Regions from separate parts of the Homo sapiens genome. Here region 2 is linked to region 1. Evidence: promoter capture Hi-C in human tissues and cell types (Jung and others, 2019). All regions are on one chromosome and are shown on one strand. Each heading gives the region's core, a stretch centred on a gene start or on the middle of the fragment in contact. The rest is flanking DNA. Distances are from core to core; before and after follow the strand shown. Region 1 holds the start of MASP1 (MBL associated serine protease 1). Region 2 has its middle 15 kb from the start of RTP4.

Region 1 (3,843 bases), core at 772-3,271:
ACACTTGGCTGAAAGTCTAGTGGAATATAGTAGAAAAAATCCTGAACTTGGAGCCCGAAGACCCAAATTTGAATCTGGACCTTTTCATGATCATCAGTGTGGTTTGGGCAAGTTGCTTAACTGCTTTTATACCCACTACTTATCCATAAATCCTTACTTCATCCAGAATCTGAAACCCCCATGAGACAGTGCTCTTGAAAGTGCTCTGCAAACACTGAAATACTGTATCCATGTGAGACAAGACCTGCTGGAGACTTTTCTAGCAGAGCACCTTTCTCGTAGTTGCTTGGCTATTCAAAAATTGAATTCAATTCAACAAATAGGTATTGAATGGCTGGTAGGAAATAGACATTATGCTAGGTGCTGGCCATACAAAGATGAAGACATAGATCATGTAACTTAAGGAGTGCTGAGACTTGTAAGGGGAGGTGGACATTTAAACAAGGGGATACTACAAGGACAATAAGAGATGCAGCTTCAAGGGACAGAAACAGAACAAAGGACAAAGGAGGGGATGCTCACTCTGGAATATGGTGGTCAGGAGAGAGAAAGAGATATTTGTGCCAGCTTGAACAATCAGGTCTTCTAGGTGGAAAATAAAGAAGAAGGTTGCTCCAGGTTGAGGGATGAGCATATGCAAAGATACAGAATTGTTACTCAGCCAAGTAGTTTGATATGGGCTGGGGCACTGAATGGTAGGGTGGGATTCAGACCAGATCATTGACAGATAAATGAGATTATCATTCAATGTAGATTGACATAAATCACTTTTTTTTGGAGAAAGAAAAATGATGTTTAATGGCAGGTTTAAAATTACTATGGCTTTAAGAAGAACAGAATTATTGCACTCACTTTTTAAGGACCTGGTTATCTCTCTGAACCACAGGTAATCGGAGTTCAAAGAGTTAACATAGTCTGAAGCCTCTCATTGGTCTCAGGTCCAGAAAAGTTGCTAGGTTACTTTGCAGAAGAGAAACAAATAAAAACACTTTCCCAAGTGAAAAGAAAATTAATAGTAAAAGATGTGTTTAGGGACTTACACATCTGCAGAGCATTGTGTGTGTGTGTGTGTGTGTGTGTGTGTGTAACAGCATTAACACTTAACTAATAAAAATAACTAGGGTGGTTGGGTTTTCAGACTTGCAGGATAGAACTTGTATGAAAGGTCTGGTAAGGAGTGTCAAGTATAATGAGGAATAAGAAAGGTTAAAGAGTTTAAAACCAATTAGAATTTGAAGTTCTTGATTTCAGAACTCTAAAATCCTTTTTTTTTTTTTAAGTATGATATCTCTTTAAGAGCCATTTGGTGTACTTCATAGCCTGATTCATGCCACCAGCTGCCTCTGATTTCAATGAGAAATGCAGAAAATTTATAGGGAACTGTAAAATGGGGACAGATTTTTAGTTTTCTAAATTGAGGTTTAACTGGCAAACTTGTAAAGGTTGAAGAAACCACAGAGCCAAGCTATGGGAAGCTGGTTTCTTTTCTGGTCAGAAGGAATGAACACACAAACACATATCTAACTCACAAAGTGCTGGAAGAGAGAAAGCAATGCTCTTTCCAGAGGAGGAACACGGAAAAATCAGCCTTGTGGGTGAACAGGAGGAGAGTCACATTCGCCAGCAGGCAGCACCCTGTGCAGGCAGTGGGAGAAATCTGAGCTTCAGCAGCGTCCGGAGCAGGATTTGCACGAAGTCTCCCGTTTCAAGTTTTATGTCTCCTGGAGTCCTGGGGAAGGCACCCAGCCCACCCACAGCTCCCTTCTCAGAGCCCTAAGAATTGATGAGAAAGCCCCTCACTACCACATGCAGGACACGCAGGTGAGTCTGTCAGTGACAAGGTCAGACCTTCCCTGCTATTTGACACTGGTCCCCAAAAGGGAACCGTGCCCTCTCCTCCCCTGGCACGTACCTCATTTTCCTGCCTTGGGTGCTCCCGGCTGCCCGGCCTTGGTCCTCCCAGCTTGACTTGCCTGTGAGCTCGTGCCCGGTGTGGTGTCCGTGATGCCTTATCTTTGTTCTGAGGTCCCTGTGTGTCTCTGGAATTGGCTGGCATTCTCCATTCAGGTCACGCCTTCCCCTGCCTGCAACAGATCCCCTCTCCCCCTCTCTCCCTCTGGCTTTTCCTCTCTCCTCTCTCTCTCCTTTGACTTGCTCTTGCACTCCCAGGAACCTGACAACAAAATCTGTCTTCCTACCGAAAAGATCTGCTCCTTCCCTTCCCTCCTTTATCCTGTGTGGCTGACTTCAGCCCTTGAGAGAAAATAACTGAGGGGCTCAAGCAGGTATTTGTATCACTCTGTGTGTGTGTGTGTGTGTGTGTGTGTGTGTGTAGAGAGAGAGAGAGAGAGAGAGTGAAAGGGGACAAAGTCTAATTTCTCTTTAGTCTTTTTTGCCAGATGACTATAATTTTCTGCTTTTCTTCAGGACACCCATGAAAGAAAAGCAATTAAATAGAAACAACCAACTAAGAAGGCAATTCTAGCACCTACACTAGAAGAAAAAAAAAAGGTCTAAATCCCAGAGCGTCTGTCTGCAAATAACTACAGGTTTCCTTGTGAGCAGAGCCCCAAATAACTACAGGTTTTCTCGTGATCAGAGTCACACACAACGACAGGTTTTCCTGTGAACAGAGCCACGGGCCCGGAACTGGGGAAGCACCAAGTCCTGAAGTTGGCTGGTTGTTCCTCCCCATGAGCAATACCTGTGGCACTGTTTACTTGCTCGGAGTGTGTGCGGCTCTACTCCAGCCCAGAAAGGGCCCATCGCAGCAAGAAATCTCACCTCCCCAGGGGTGTAGAAAGACCTGGGCCTGTATATATGTCTATACCCATGGCTTCCGGAGAAATCAACACTAGATCTAAGATGAGCTGAATAATAAGAAAATTACCCCCTCCACAACAACAACAACCAACACTGAATAGGGAGAGGTGTATCTGGGTGTAAAAGTTAAGTTTGACTGTGCACCTTTTCTGTGTTAGACACAGTACTAGTCATTAACATCATCTCAAGTTACTTTTGCAAACTGGTGAAAGTGCTGCTGTTATACTCATTTTACAAGTGAGGACACTAAGGCTCAGAGAGAATATGCCACTTGCCAAGATCATCCAGTTATTTATGACTCCCCACTGCCACTAGCACTAGAAGCTAACAGCTATTGAGTGCTACGTGTCAGGCACTGCTCTAAGCACTTAATATATGAATTCTTTTCAGTCATCTTTATATGTTGTATACATGGCTGGCAATATTCTCATTTTTCAGAGGAAATTGCCCAGAGAGGTTAAGTAACTTTCCCAAGTTCACACAGCTAGAAAGTAATAGAGGCAGAATTTGAAGTGTTAGCCACTGTATTACACTGCTACTCATTAACATTTTATAATGCATATGGAATTTCAAATGCACACACACAGACGGCATTCATAGAGAAACTCAATCTGAGTCATTTTGAAAAGAAGATTAGACTCAGAGTTTAGCTGTAATCTTTCCTTTCTACCCAAGACAGCTGTGTACTTTGGGCACAATACTTAAGGTATCTGATTCTGTGTCTTCATTTGGAAAATGGGAGTTACTATGAGGCTTAAATAAGACTGTGCTTGTAGAAGTGTCCAGGGGAGTACCAGAGAGAGGGCTGCCAGCCACACTCACCAAAGCGGCAGACACATGCACTGTCTACCCTCAGATAACGTTCCTTTGGCACGTTCTGGGGAACAGTGGCTTGACTCTCACTGTACTTCTTACTCCATTTTCTCTCCAGTTTCTCTAATTTTCACACTTTTGAATGCCAGCCTTGCCAAGCTTGGCATTATCAAGAGGCTGTGGTTGATAAAGCAGGTACAAGTATAT
Region 2 (3,843 bases), core at 786-3,285, 62 kb after region 1:
AAATATGGCAGCACTAAAGACATTCCCATCCTAGAGTATTTATTTTAATTATCTTTTAGAGCACAATTTTAATAAGGTTTCTGGGAAGCGCAGATATATATATTGAGTTTCTACTTGTTAAGGATCCTTTTTTTCTTTCCATTTTGCAAGTGAAAATAACTTGATAGATTTTTCAGACTCGAATATTTTTCCTTTAAACTCTGCAAAAGTTGCATCATATTTGCTGGAATTTAATATTAATGAGAAAGGACCTGAAGCCAACCTAATTTTTGTTGCTTTGTAGGTAAGCCATTTCCTCCCATCCCTGCCTGGATACATGTAAGACACCTCACCCAACCAATCTAAAAAAACTTAAAACTTACCAGAGTATGTGTATGTAGAAAACTCTATTGATTAATTTTGATTGCTTCTTATGAAGTCCTTTCAAACCCGAACATGTCTTTTTTGACTCAGAAACATTTTTTTTCTTCTTTAATTGTTTCTCCTCAATTTGCACTTTTCTCCTACCATATTTTTTGTATACCTAAATGGGATCTTCTGCATTTGTTCTTTACATCTTTGTTTTTCAATGGTTCACCACCTTCTCTCTTTTCTTTGATTTTGGGAGACGTTTTTGAACTTTTGCCCTCCTGCTTTGGTTTTCCATGATATTTAGTGCCCCTTTGCCGTTTGAATTTTGTTGGTGATATTCTTTGTTTGCAGTCTTTAAAACTGCATGATGTCATTTTAAAAGAAATATTTATTTAAGATTCTCAGAATCCAAATGAAATGTTCTCTCTATTCCCTAGTAATTTTATTTAATATGAAGTTCTCTGATTTCAGAAGCCTGTCCTTCCCAGTATTGGATGTTGAGCCTGAATCGCTCAAGAACTATTTGTGGACCTTTTAAATTTTTAGGTCTAGACAAGGAGGGGCTGAATAGGTTTGGATATACAGCAGTTCTTCTTTGCCTGTCTGCATTCCTGAAGCCTGACAAGGGTAGGCAGAAGGCTCGAGAAAATGATGGTCAGGGTCTTGGAATTCTCTGCTCAGGCTTCTTTCCTTTCCCATGTTTCATGTGATCTGAGAGCTAGCTGGGGCAGTGGCCTCATTTGCTGACCCTCAGAGTTCCATGCCACCCGGCTCATATGTCCTCGGGCGTGCTCCAGTGTGCTGGCACTCCCTTCACGGTGCATGGACCAGGAAACCTAATCCAAACAAGTCTAGGCAATAAAGGGAATGAGCACTCAGTTCACTGAGATAAGCTGAACGCTACAGGACTTTTTCCTCATAGCCTAATGAGGTTGTCAAGGACCAAGTTTCTTTTAGTCTTTGTTCTCTGCTTTCCAGATGTCTTCACCCCAAGCCAGACCTCCCTTAAGGAGACAAAAAATTTGCAGCAGTTCCCACAGTTCACGTCTGCACAGCACATGACCCAGTAGGAGATGGGACTGACTGGGTCAGACTGCAATACCTGAACTCCTTGTTATTGAAGAAGCATGAGGTCTCACTAATTGGCTTATACTCATATTGGCATTGCCGCTGCCTCCAGGGCTGAGGTGGCGTTAATTCACTATTTCCTGCTCCGCCACACAGCTGCTACCCAGGTGAAAGGGTTAAATGGCTAAGGGATAGTCATCCGTAATATATTCAGGTTTTTAATGCCTCTTCTAAGTGTGTTCTCAGAATTAGCCAAGTGCGCAAGTGGTAGAGATACACAGGGATAGATTTATTTACTTTTGTGAATCTACTATATTAATCATGTAGTTTGTTTAAATAGTGTGATTCAGTTTTGAGAGCAAAGTTGGGAAAACCTCTTACCCGTTATTTTTATTTTACTTTGATACTCTGTTAAGTCAAACTCAATGAGTGGGGAGCAGGGAGGCTAATGGGCATTTATAGAATGACATTATACTTTAATATTAAAATAGGAATATTTAGATTTACTTATATATGTAAGCAATTTTTTTTAGCATGTACTACTTGCCAGGTACAGTTGACCCTTGAACAATGTGGGGGTTAGGGGCACCAACCCGCCCCCACCACACAGTTAAACATCTGTGTACGACTTCTGACTCCCCCAAAACTTAACTCCTAATAGCACATTGTTGACTGGAGGCCTTACTGATAACATAACCAGCCTACTAACATGTATTTTGTATTATATATATTATTTATTATATTTTTACAATAAAGTAAGCTAGATAAAACAAAATGTTTCTGAGAAAATCATAAGGAAGAGAAAATAGATTTACTATTCGTTAAGTAAAAGTGGATGATCATAAAGGTCTGCATCCTTGTCATCTTCACATTGCGTGGACTGAGGGGGAGAAGTTGGTCTTGCTGTCTTGTCTCAGGGGTGGCAGAGGTGAAGAAAACCCATGTATAAGTGGACCCACTCACTTCAAACCTGTGCTGTTCAAGGGTCAACTGTGTTTCATTACTGAGCGTGAGAGTGCAATGTGTACCAGCCAAAGAAATGTTCCTGCTCTTAAAGAGTTTAAGTCATAGAAGAGATCAGTCAAGTCAATAGGTTTGTAGTGTGAAATTGTTATACAAGATGCCCTGGGTGCTACGGAAGCACATAGAGCAGGCACCAAATCTAGGCCTGGGGAAGCAGAAAAAGCTTATTTATTAGAGGAGAATACTGAGTAATACTTCAAGGGCAGGTCGGCATGGGCCAGGTAAAGAGATGCTGAAGGAGCCTCCAGACAAGGAGAGCTCATGTGGGAAGGCCCAGCAATGAGAGAGGCAGTAAAGCAAGGTTCTAGAGTTAAACTATCTGGTTTGGAATCCTGGCTCTTCCACTTATCAGCTGTGTGCACAAAGTATTTCGACAGGGATAATAAAAATGGCAGCTACCCCGTGAAGTTGTTATGAAGATTGAGCAAGTTAACATTTGTAAAACACTTCAAACAGGGCTTTGTTTGTTACATAAAAAATAAAATTAAACCTACATATAAAACAAAACAAATCTTTCCATACTGCCTCAATCAACAACGAGTAAGAAAGAATCTACTCTTTAGTGTCTCCCATTGGAGGCCGCCATGTTTACTCCCTGACCTCCGCAGCAGTGGATCCAGCTTCCTAAATGAGCTTGTCTGCTTCCCCTGCCCTGCCTGCATTGAGCTTCCAGCTGGCTCAAGAGACATGCTCACACACAAGCTCAGAAAAGAACCACGAACATTGAGAGACAGCAGCTCAGTCAGTGAGTCCATGGGAAGAGCACCAACATGGAATCCAGGAGAAGTGGTCATGTGTACATCTAAGATAAAAGCCAGGCAAGGCAGCCATCAGTGACTTGGGCAGGTCGTCACAGAGACTGACAGGAAGTTCTTGTTGCCACTTCCATATTTTGTGAAAAGGCAAGACTCCAGCTCTGGGAAGCCTGACCAGCACCAAGCCAGGCCTGCATCCAAGAAAATCACAATACAAAGCAGGTTATCAAAGGACTAATTCCCTCCCTCCCTCCCTCCCTCTCTCCCTCCCTCCCTCTCTCTCTCTTTCTTTCTCTTCCTTCCTTCCTCCCTTTCTGCCTTCCTTCCTTCTTTCTTCTTCTTTCTCTCTCCTTCCTTCCTTCTTTCCTTCCTTCCTCCTTCCTTCTACCTTCCTTCCTTCCTTTCTTTGTTTCTACAAAAAATTTATTTAAATGCTTAACTTGCGCCAGACAATGTGTCAGGTACTGGATATATTAGTAGTAACATATAGTTTCTGCCTTCAAAATGTTTAGACTAGTGAGAAAGACAGGTATCAGATGATGTGATGCTTTGATAAAAATATGCACAGGGCACTATAGTAACAACCCAAAAGTTCTGACCTTACCAAACTCAACTGCAAGGATGAAAAGAGAAGTGAGGAATGGAG

What was found. Contacts are between HindIII fragments. The study calls those that stand out against the background at their distance.
Region 2: a contact is called between a fragment that was not itself captured here and the fragment with the promoter of MASP1 in region 1, in 2 of the 25 tissues and cell types used here (ovary and psoas muscle).

What each region holds. Positions count from the first base shown.
Region 1 is chr3:187,289,716-187,293,558 of GRCh38, forward strand. MASP1 (MBL associated serine protease 1) reads right to left here and starts at 2,022. Exons shown (of 11, transcript NM_139125.4): 1 at 1,913-2,022. The coding sequence starts at 1,917. LOC101929130 (a long non-coding RNA gene) reads left to right here and starts at 1,557. Exons shown (of 2, transcript NR_135551.1): 1 at 1,557-1,821. The HindIII fragment of the contact is 8,732 bases long and covers 1-3,843 here.
Region 2 is chr3:187,351,693-187,355,535 of GRCh38, forward strand. No RefSeq gene overlaps it. Among named protein-coding and RNA genes, the nearest start is that of RTP4, 15 kb to the right of the region's middle. The HindIII fragment of the contact is 7,930 bases long and covers 1-3,843 here.